Regions from separate parts of the Homo sapiens genome. Here all the other regions are linked to region 3. The links are contacts of gene promoters, found by promoter capture Hi-C in human tissues and cell types (Jung and others, 2019). All regions are on one chromosome and are shown on one strand. The core of a region is centred on a gene start or on the middle of the fragment in contact, and the rest is flanking DNA. Distances in the headings are between cores, read along the strand shown. Region 1 overlaps LOC124903877 (a long non-coding RNA gene). Region 2 holds the start of SRSF10 (serine and arginine rich splicing factor 10). Region 3 holds the start of MYOM3 (myomesin 3).

Region 1 (3,494 bases), core at 782-3,281, 160 kb before region 3:
GCAACCTCCACCTCCTGGGTCCAAGCAGTTCTCCTGCCTCAGCCTCCCGAGTAGCTGGGATTACAGGTGCACGCCACCAGGCCTGGCTAATTTTTGTATTTTTAGTAGAGACCGGGTTTCACCATGTTGGCCAAGCTGGTCTTGAACTCCTGATCTCAAGTGATCCACCTACCTCGGCCTCCCAAAGTTCTGGGATTACAGGCATGAGCTACCACGCCTGCCCTGTTTTTTGTTTTTGTTTTTTTTAAAAAGCAGGGTCTCACTCTGTTGCTCAGGCTGGAGAGCAGTGGCACAATCTTAGCTCACTGAAACCTTTGCCTCCTGGTTTCAAGTGATTTTTTTTTCCTGCCTCAGCCTCCAGAGTGGCTGGAATTACAGGTGCGCACCACCACGCCCGGCTAATTTTTGTATTTTTAGTAGAGACGGGGTTTCACCATGTTGGCCAGGGTGGTCTCGAACTCCTGACCTCAAGTCATCCACCTGCCTTGGCCTCCTAGATTTCTGGGATTACAGGTGTGAGCCACCATGTCTGGCCTTAACTATAGTTAAGGGTTGTAATCAGGGAGGAAGAAGGGCAGAAGACGGTAAGAAAGTTCCTACTTGACTAGAACTCTTGTGACATTTCCCTGGCCTGACAGATAGCTAAAGCTGCCTCTTTCTCTCATGGCACTTGTTCTTCAGCAAATTCTCTTCATGAGCTCTCTCGGCTGCAATTCCTTCACAGTGGGCAATGCTTCTCCTTAGGCTGATTGCTCCCTCAGCTTCTGCCTCTTAGTACAATATCTTGCTGTAAGACTGCCATTGCAGGGGCCACACTTGTGGGCTTTGAAAATAACTCTAGCCAGGCAGGTGGCTCACACCTGAAATCCCAGCACTTTGGGAGGCTGAGGCAGGCAGATCACTTGAGCCCAGGAGGCAGAGGTTGCAGTGAGCCGAGATCGCACCATTGCACTCCAGCCTGGGTAATAGGAGTGAAACCCTGTCTCACAAACAAACAAACAAACAATCAATCAAAGAAACAAAACACATGAGGATCTATAAATACTCTAGTTTTTTTTTCTTATTTTTTTCTAATCGGCAATGAGAATATACGTGCAATTTTACTGGCCAATGATAGCATGGAACCAGAAGGGTGGCTACCTCCCATTTAGAGCATACTGTATTCCGAGCGCTTCCTAGCAATATGGACCCTGAAGACTAGATCGGTGTAGCAGAGTGGCTAAGAGCAGGTTTTGGCATCAGGCTGACCCAGGTTCAAGTTCGAGGTATGTGACTTTGGGCAAATGACTTAGCCTACCTCTTTGAATCTCAGTTTACTCATCCATTTAATGAGGCAGTACTACTAGTGACCTCAGTAGGTTGTGATGAGAATTAAATAAGAATGCGTATCAATTGTTTAGGACAGGCCGATTCAATGGCTCATGCCTGTAATCCCAGCACTTTGAGGGGCTGAGGCAGGTGGATCACTAGAGCCTAGGAGTTCAAGACCAGCCTGGGCAACATGACGAAACCCTGTCTCTACAGAAAATACAAAAATTAGCCGGGCACGGTGGCATACACCTGTTGTCCCAGCTACTCGGGAGGCTGAGGCAGGAGGATTGCTTGAGCCCAGGAGGTTAATGCTGCAGTGAGCCGTGATCTCACCACTGCACTCCAACCTGGGTGACAGAGTGAGATCCTATTTAAAAAAAAAAAATTTTTTTTTTAAATTGCTTAGGACAGTGTACCTTGCTCATAGTAGAGTGCTCGATACTTATTGTTATTATTTAATGTGCAACACATTTGTAATATGCAAAGTATCATACCTTTGAATTGCATAAGTAACAGTTAAAACAAAACAAAATAAAGATATAACAGTCAAAGGCAAGGAGATGGTATAAATATTCAATCACGGTGAACTGGAATCAAGAGATCAGACTGAACTTGAGCAAGTTACTTCACCTCCTTTTGCCTTGGAAACTGTGGGCGAATGGCGACTCCTTTGTTGCCTGCTCTACCCAAGAGTGGAAGTCATGCCACGGTGTCACCTAGCAGTTTAATCATGTGTTAAGACTATGTCAATCTGTTCTTTTTTTTTTCTGCTGTGGCAAAATCCAGGCTCTCGGGCCATGGAAGCTTGACTCATAGTCTCTTTCCAAACCCAAGCCATCAGCCAGAGAACAAACACTGGCTTGCCTGACTCAGTGGAAATTCCAGACGTTTGTAGCTCATTAACTGCCAAATTGACAGCTATGGAGGCTGTGACGAATAAGTGGACCTCATTAGCTCCATGTTCCCCAGAAAAAGCTGTCCCACAGGCATACTTTGTACAAAGGCCATACGTAACACGTGATCTTTAAAAAAACCTTTTAAAATTCTTTTGACTATTTCCTGTCAAAAGAAATTCACCGCCAGGCGAGGTGGCTCATGCCTATAATCCCAACACTTTAGGAGGCCGAGGTGGGTGGGTCACCTGAGGTCAGGAGATCAAGACCAGCCCGACTAACATGGTGAAATCCTGTCTCTACTAAATACAAAAAATATGCTGGGCGTCATGGCACATGCCTGTAATCCCAGCTACTTGGGAGGCTGAGGCAGGAGAATCGCTTGAACCCAGGAGGTAGAGGTTGCAGTGAGCCGAGATTGTGCCATTGCACTCCAGCCTGGGCAACAAGAGTGAAACTCCGTCTCAAAAAAACAAAGAAATTCACCAACGTAAATTCACCAACTCCTCTTACAGATCCAATGTCAGGAAAGCAGCTATAAACAATAAGGACAGCGAACAGTATCCTCAAAGCCAGAAGCCTGGGACTGACTTTTAGCCTGATGGTGGGGGCATACACGGATACATAATTTCTGGAAAGTATTTGGTAATATGTATCAAAAGTCTTACCTGTATATTTACCTTGTGACCTAGTACTTTCACCCCTAAGAATTTATTTAAAGGAAATTTATTTACAGAAATGAAGATTTATTTATAGGGACATCCAACTCAGCATATAATAGCAAAAAATTGGAAATAACAGTGGAGAATAGTAAATTAATCAAAGATGGTCATAACATAAAATATGGCTAACAATGAATGTATATATACATGGAAACATGCTCACAATATCCTGAGTTTAAAAAGTGAAAAAAGGGGCGGGCGTGGTGGCTCACACCTGTAATCCCAGCACTTTGGGAGGCCAAGGTGGGTGGATCACATGAGGCCCAGGCGTTCAAGACCAGCCTGGCCAATATGGAGAAACGTCGTCTCTACTAAAAATACAAAAATTAGCTGGGCGTGGTGGCACATGCCTGTAATCCTAGCTACTCAGGAGGCTGAGGCAGGACAATCACTTGAACCTGAGAAGTGGAGGTTGCAGTGAGTTGAGATCATGCCACTGTACTCCAGTCTGGGCAACAGAGCTAGACTCTGCCTCAAAAAAAAAAAAAAAAAAAAAAAAAAAGTGAAAAAAGGTAACAATAGAATATATACCACTTTTCATCTTTGTAAAAAGGAAAAAAAAAGCTCA
Region 2 (3,566 bases), core at 92-2,591, 130 kb before region 3:
ACAACTTATTTTTATCTACAGCCGTCATTTTTCATAAAAGGTACAGCAGCATTAGGTTGTATATAAGCCTTGTTTTTTTTTTTTTTTTTACTTTTACAGCATCAAATCGACTCTAGCACTCTGAAAAATACCAAGCACTTATTTTTACTCCCCAATTTTAGCGACAGATTTACACACTTAACAGTAGATAAATATGGTCTGAAAAAGTCACAAATATCGAACTTCTTAAATAGTTAAGTGTCAAGATGACGTAAAGAGAAAATTTCTCTAGATGCTAACGTAACTATTAGAAATTATGGAAAGAATTATTTATGGAAAGAATTATTGCTTTCTTTCCTTCTTAAATTTAAGACAAAAGCAAATCACAAAGCTAGCAAAAAACCCCCACGAAACACCAAAAACCCAAACCACTTATTTTCTGTGTGTAGATTCATTATTTGTGAAATAAAAAGCCTCATCTTGTAGTAAGAACTCTTCCAAAATAATCTGAAGGCAACTCGAAACAAGGGAATGGTGAGAACAAAGCCTATTTAAGGTACGTCTGAATTAATCTAACTTAGCTGTCAACGTCCTAATGACTGACGCTTCCCAAACCTCCCTTTTCAAAGGGTGACCAGAATTTCCAGGAAATAAGAAAAACTACTCGCAACATTTAACTGGAAAAATCTAACTCCCCAAATCTCAACGCTCCCTTTCTCCAAACACCTCCAACTGATTAAAACCCCCAAATATTAACAACGGCAACAACAACAAAGATAAATGGTAGCAACATTCCTCTCCCTCGATCCCGTTATTTCATCTCACTATTTTTTGGCTGGGGAAAAAAAAAAATCTCTGGGCCAAGGGGGCGTGAACCTCGAAGAATGTGAACTTCAAATCAATGGGGGGCGGCCGTCGGGTCGCGGAAAGGCCGCGGCGGGGGGCTGCTCGCGCCGGCAGGAAGCAGGGAGAAAGGGGCTGCAAACTGCGGAGGGGGAGGGGGACCGAAAAACCCCGCCACGCGGCCCGGCGAAGGCAGAGGCGCCGCCCTCGCTCCCACGCGGCGGCTGAGGCCCGCTGCGCGGCCTAGTTCGGCGCCAAAGCGGGCGCGGGACCCGCCATCTTCACTCCGTCCCCTCCCCCGGCCCAGTGCCGCCACCACCAGGGTCCTCTCCAGGCGCCTGCGGCCTCCCCGCCTAGGCCCGGAGTACCTGCCTTGTACCTACCTGGTGTCGTCGGCCACGTTCCTGACGAACAGAGACGTGTTGGGGGGACGCAGGTAGCGGGACATGGCGGCGGCGTGTCTCGGCCGGGCGCACTAACGGGCTCAGCAAACCGTCCGCGGCTCAGGCGGCCGAGCCTCAGACACACACAGCTAGAGGGCTCTGCTACGGCAACCGACTCTTCTCGCGAGACTTCACTCCCGCCTCCACTTCCCCCTCCTACCTCCGCGCAAAGTCGGGCGCAACGGTTCTTTCCCGCGAGAACACCAGGCGTCCGCCTGCGCATGCGGAGGGCTGGCGCACGCGCCTCAGCGTCGGTGTCATTCGTTGGCTTCTTGCGGTGCCTCTTACCCTCCCCCAAGCCTGTTCTTTCTTTCTTTAGGTCTTCATTTCCCGCCGTTTTCTACCTTACACTCCACTTCATCTCCACCCCCAAATCAGGAAGCAGATGTTTTAGTCTCTAGGCCAAACTTTGCGGTTACTACTAAATGGACAGATTTTTAAACTATTTAGTTCAGAGAGGCTGCCTTAAATTTCCCGGTTGGTCCAAGTTAATGTCCTGCTTTTATTTTGCCTTAAATTTCCCGTTTGGTCCAGGTTATGCCCTGACCTGCGAAAGAAGGATTTACAGCTTGTATTGAGTGTGTAAAGGAAGGAGGTGTGTGCCCTTGCGCAGAGCTGGGCCTGTCTCTCCAGTGTTTTCAGCCTGCCTTTGCCCCTCACCCACACCCTAGCCATCTCCACTTAGTCACGCATTTGGCTCCCAACCTGGGTGGGACCAAACCTCACACTGTAGGTTCATGACTGTGGTCATTTGTAGTGTATTCTTTGTTGCTGACGGCTTCCTGGGTATGCATCGGACCTGTATTGCAGCAGTTCTCAAACTTTTTGGTCTCAGAACGCCTTTATATTCTTGTGTATTACGGAAGATTCCAAAGAGCTTTTTTTAAAAAAAGTGTGGGTTATACCTATTAATAAATAGTTAATGAGAACTTAAAATAGAGGAAACTTCGGCTGGGCTCGGTGGCTCACGCCTGTAATCCCTCCCTGTACTTTGGGAGGCCGAGGCGGGCAGATCACGAGGTCAAGAGTTTGAGACCAGCCTGACCAACACAGTGAAACCCCATCTCTACTAAAAATACAAAAATTAGCCAGGCGTAGTGGCGCGCGCCTGTAATCCCAGCTACTTGGGAGGCTGGGGCAGAAGAATCGCTTGAACTCGGGAGGCAGAGGTTGCAGTGAGCCGAGATTGCACCACTGCATTCCAGCCTGGGCGACAGGGTGAGACTCCGTCTCAAAAAAGAAAAAAAAAAAAAATAGAGAAAACTTTGACACACTCCACTACCCTTTATCACACATCATGTACCCTCTGGAAAACTCCACGTTTGTAAGAGAATGAGCATGAAAATAGCAAATAATCTTTAGTATGGTTTTGATTTTGGAGGCCCTTTTGAGAGCCATTTCCTGCTCGATAAGAGTCAACTTCTGGAGATGAGAGACTTCAGTTGGAATGCCTCCAGCGTGTGGCACAGTGCCAAGCAGGTAGCAGGGACTCAAGTACTGTTAAATTAAATGAACTTTTATTTAATAAAAAGTCATAAAGGCATTATTTTTGTGTCAATCAGCATCTAAGACAATTAAGTGATTCGATACAGGTGATGATAGTTTGTAGCACTCTGTAGCAGAGCTATTCTAAATTTTTGTTTCCCAAGATTTGCATGCTTAATTTATTAAAATGTTGGGCCAGGCAAGGTGGCCCCAAAATCCCAGCATTTTGGGAGGGTGATGTGAAAAACAAAACAAAACAAAAAAAAGTTTGATTCCCTGTTATGTGTCAGACATTGTGCTAGAAGCTTGAAATTCAGTAATGAAAAACATACAGCTTATATTTCTAGGGCGATGGCAATGAGAAAATAAAGTAAATGCAGGTTTGTTATATGAAAGAAACAGTAATGTGATAGGTTTTTTCTTGTTTTTGATTTTTACTTATTTTTATTTTATTTTATTTTTTGAGATGTAGTCTTGCTCTGTTGACCAGGCGTGAATGCAGTGGCTGGATCTTGGCTTACTGCAGCCTCCGCCTCCTGGGTTCAAGCGATTCACCTACGTCAGCCTCCCGAGTAGCTGGGACTACAGGCTCCTGCCACCATGCCTGGCTAATTTTTCTGTTTTCAGTAGAGATGGGTTTTCACCATGTTGGCCAGGCTGGTCTCAAACTCCTGACCTAATTGATCCGCCTGCCTTGGCCTTCCAAAGTGCTGAAATTACAGGTGTGAGCCACTGTGCCCCCGGCCTTGTTTTTAATTTTTAAAACAGGTTTGCCTAGGAAGGCCTTGCTGAGCAAGTGTCTCCCCTGCCCCTCTC
Region 3 (3,431 bases), core at 248-2,747:
GGCTGCAGGGTTAGCTGGGACCAAGGGCTGCCCCCTAAAGCTCCCTGGGCTCCTGCTAATCATCTCAAATGACATAATGGGACAGTCACCCTCTTTGGCTTCGTATCACTCCCTCCCGATGGAAGAAGTTCTCTTTGCACCCAAAGAAGTGGCTAGCCCTGCTCATTCTGCTCTTTCTTCCTCATGGCCCAGGAGGAGAGCTGCTGGGTACCACCCTAGGTGGAGCAAGGACCCCCCACTCTGCCCCAGCTTTCCTGGGACACGATGGCCCTGGCTCCAGTGGCTGAGAGTTAACATTCCCTGGCACCAGCCACTGGCTCCCTTCCCCTGGATGCTCTGTTCCCGATTAGCACAGCAGGCAGGGGCCTGGCGCTCGTCCCTGACCTCGGGGCCTCCAGCAACCAGACCCCTGGCTTTAGCGGATGAGCTACCAATTCTTTTTAAAGCACTGACTGATGCGTGGTATTAAGCAGGGACAAGTTTGCGGCCTCACTGCCCTTTCCCAAAGGACCAGGGTGCCTCTTCCCGGAACACTGTGTGTGCCTGCGTGGAGGGGAAACTGCCCCCGCTTCCCTCTCTTGGGGTGCAAAAATCTGGGCCAGAGGTCCCACTGCGTGGCCTTCCCTATTCCCCTCTGCTTTCCTCCCAAGCCTCCATCTGCCGAGGAGGCCTCTCCCCTTCTTCAGGAGGGAAAGAGGAATGCACAGCAGTTGAGCCAAGACCCCTCCAGGAGCTGCGATGGGGGCGGATGGTGGCTGGGAGCAGAGACACATCCTGCGGGCGGCGGGTGGCACAGGCTGGGACGTGTTCTTAGCCAGTGGCTCCACCAGCTTCCGCGAGGCCGAATCCTGCCCTTGCCAGTCATGAGCTGAGGCAACTCCTTTCCCGTCTGGGCCTCGGTTTCCTGTCAGGCACTGGATGAAATCCCTTCCAGCTCTAAGATTTGGGATCCGAGGGCTCGCTCTCTTTCCCTGCCTGTGGGGTTGGCCAAGCCGGGCTCAGCCAGCTCCGCTCTAAGTTCGTGGAACTTGCCAGCTTAGCCTGGCTCCCGCTTATCGCTGCTCCATCACAGGAAAGACTCCAGTTCCCAGGGCAGCCCCCACTCTTTTTTTTTTTTTTGCAACTTTCACATCACAGACAGCTCAGCTCTCAGAAGACCCAGGGCCACACAGAACAGTGGGATGGGGCAGGGGTTTCTGGAATCCCCTCCCATTTTCACTTGGGTGCTGCCTCAGCACAAATTTCCCAGGCTCCTTTCACAACACACAACACACATACACACAAACACACACACGTGCACACACACACACACATGCACCCACAGATATCACTCCCCAGTGGCTGACTCTTAGGAGGCATCCCTCCCCCACCCTGATTTCTGGGGGTGACTCACAGAAGCAGTGTGCCCACTTAGGAGTCTCTGGGGAGAAGATTCCTGAGGCCGAGAGGGTCCTTGTTCTCTTCTTGCCCTCGGCTCAGCGGGCACCGGGAGAAGAATGCGATCCCGGAGACTGCACCGTCTTAAATATAGCAGCACTGAGACAGTACAATGACAATGGATGAGAACTATGGCATCGGGGACAGGGGGCCAAGGGGAGGGGCCATTCCGTGTCTCCAGCCTGCTGGGCAGCAGCGACAGGTGGAGCTGTCCGCCGCGTCCCCCCACACTGCTCCTCCTCTCAGCTGGGTCCTTTCTGCCCAACCCAAGCCCCTGTTAAAATGGAAAGGAGGGAACGGCTCAGGCATGGTCGTATGGAGGGCAGATCCCGTGCGGCGTTCTCAGCTGTCGGGAGTTCTGATCTGAATTCTGCCCCGGCTGACTGGGTGCCCTGGGGAAGGCGCTCAGCTTCCCTGAACTGACTGCCTTCTGAAAAACGGAGACAGTGAGACTGGGCACCTGGACTTCATGAAGACGGTGGAAGGAATATGACCTAAAAGTGAGTGTTTCGTGCTCAGAAGTTGTCACTGGCTAAAACAGCAATGTGTGGCTCCTGGTCCCTCCACCACTCCGGTAGTTACTACACGGCCCCCGCCCTGACCACAGTCATGTGTGTGTGGTGTGGTGCAGGCAGGAGGAGCTGGGGAGCCACCTACTGCTTCACTGTGCAAACTGCTCAGGCTGCCAGAGTGTCCCCTGAAGGGCCTTCTTATAGGGTAAACGCACCTGACAGGGATAACTGAAGCACGCTCCAAGAATGACCCTGTGTGGAAGACCTGAATATGTGTTCCGAGCTAAGGAATCTGGGGAGTAGCCAACCCGTTTCTTACCTACGATGAATATCTGAGCCCCCGTCCCGTCCCTTCTGGTGGAACGCTGGCCATACAGGGGATTGAGGCCCTGAGTTTTGGGTTAAATGAAGATTGCCAGGTGGAGGTCATTAGGGGATGGTGTAAAGTGAAAATGCTCTATAAACTGCATGCTGTTTGCAAGGGGCTGAGGTTTTCCTGCCCAGTCGGCCGCCACTGGTATGTTGTCCAGCCCGCCGCCCCTGGACCATTTCTGTATGTAAGGCGGTTCTCCTGTCCAGTTCATCACCAGTGGACTCTCTCTCCTGTAGGCAAGCCCCTAACAAACCCCCACGTTCCTTCCTTTCCTTCCTTCCCTTCCTTCTCTCCCTTTCTTTTTCTTTCTTTCTTTCTTTCTTTCTTTCTTTCTTTCTTTCTTTCTTTCTTTCTTTCTTTCTTTCTTTCTTTCTTTCTTCTTTCTCTTTCCTTCCTTCCTTCCTTCTTTCCTTCTTTCCCTCCCCCCCTCCTTCCTTCCTTCCTTCCTTCTCTCTCTCTTTCTTTCTTTCTTTCTTTCCTTCTTTCCTTCTTTCTTTCCTTCTTGAGTCAGAGTCTCACTTTGTTGTCCAGGCTGGAGTGCAGTGGCATGATCTCAGCTCACTGCAACCTCCGCCTCCTGAAACCCCCATGTTCCGTTTGCTGGCTATGGATCTTTTCTTTGGCCTCTCAAACCTGGTGCCTTCCCTACTGAGGTTAATAGGTGTTCGGCACCACACCTCTTCCCACCCTTTGCCCTCTCCTGCCATTCCCTCAGTCTCAATTCTTTCCCCCTCACATTCATTGGCACCTACCCTATGCCAGACCCTAACCTACAGGGGAAGTCAGGCACTTACGACAGGAGGTGATCAGGAAGGTGCACCTGGGTCGAGTCTCAGAGGATGAGCCGGTGAGGGGAAGGCTGTACCGGCCCCTAGCCAGAGAGCACAGCTTCCCTCCCTCACCCCTTCCTGCGACCTCAGGTGGCCACCCACACTACACCTGTCACTCTTGCTGGTGCCTCAGGGACTCCTCACTCGAGAGAAGGAGAGAGAGAGCACAAGTGAACTTTGCAGGCAAAATCTGAATCCCCTGCCCTATTTGAAAACCCCTTTCTAAGCTCTTCTGTGGCTCTCTCTTACAGCATCTTTTGGGAGAGAACATTTCTCTCC

Evidence for each region. Contacts are between HindIII fragments. The study calls those that stand out against the background at their distance.
Region 1: a fragment that was not itself captured here is called in contact with the fragment with the promoter of MYOM3 in region 3 in 1 of the 25 tissues and cell types used here (H1 embryonic stem cells).
Region 2: the fragment with the promoter of SRSF10 here is called in contact with the fragment with the promoter of MYOM3 in region 3 in 1 of the 25 tissues and cell types used here (IMR-90 fibroblasts).

Annotation. Positions count from the first base shown.
Region 1 is chr1:23,949,610-23,953,103 of GRCh38, forward strand. LOC124903877 (a long non-coding RNA gene) reads right to left here. Exons shown (of 4, transcript XR_007065541.1): 3 at 3,461-3,467. Among named protein-coding and RNA genes, the nearest start is that of PNRC2, 8.5 kb to the right of the region's middle. RefSeq lists a silencer at 1-53. The HindIII fragment of the contact is 5,689 bases long and covers 1-3,494 here.
Region 2 is chr1:23,978,986-23,982,551 of GRCh38, forward strand. It overlaps SRSF10 (serine and arginine rich splicing factor 10), which reads right to left and starts at 1,342. Exons shown (of 6, transcript NM_054016.4): 1 at 1,206-1,342. The coding sequence starts at 1,270. RefSeq lists enhancers at 569-1,559, 797-846, 1,277-1,606, 1,560-2,550, 1,617-1,666. The HindIII fragment of the contact is 19,449 bases long and covers 1-3,566 here.
Region 3 is chr1:24,110,638-24,114,068 of GRCh38, forward strand. It overlaps MYOM3 (myomesin 3), which reads right to left and starts at 1,498. Exons shown (of 37, transcript NM_152372.4): 1 at 1,394-1,498. RefSeq lists an enhancer at 1,700-2,208. The HindIII fragment of the contact is 13,718 bases long and covers 1-3,431 here.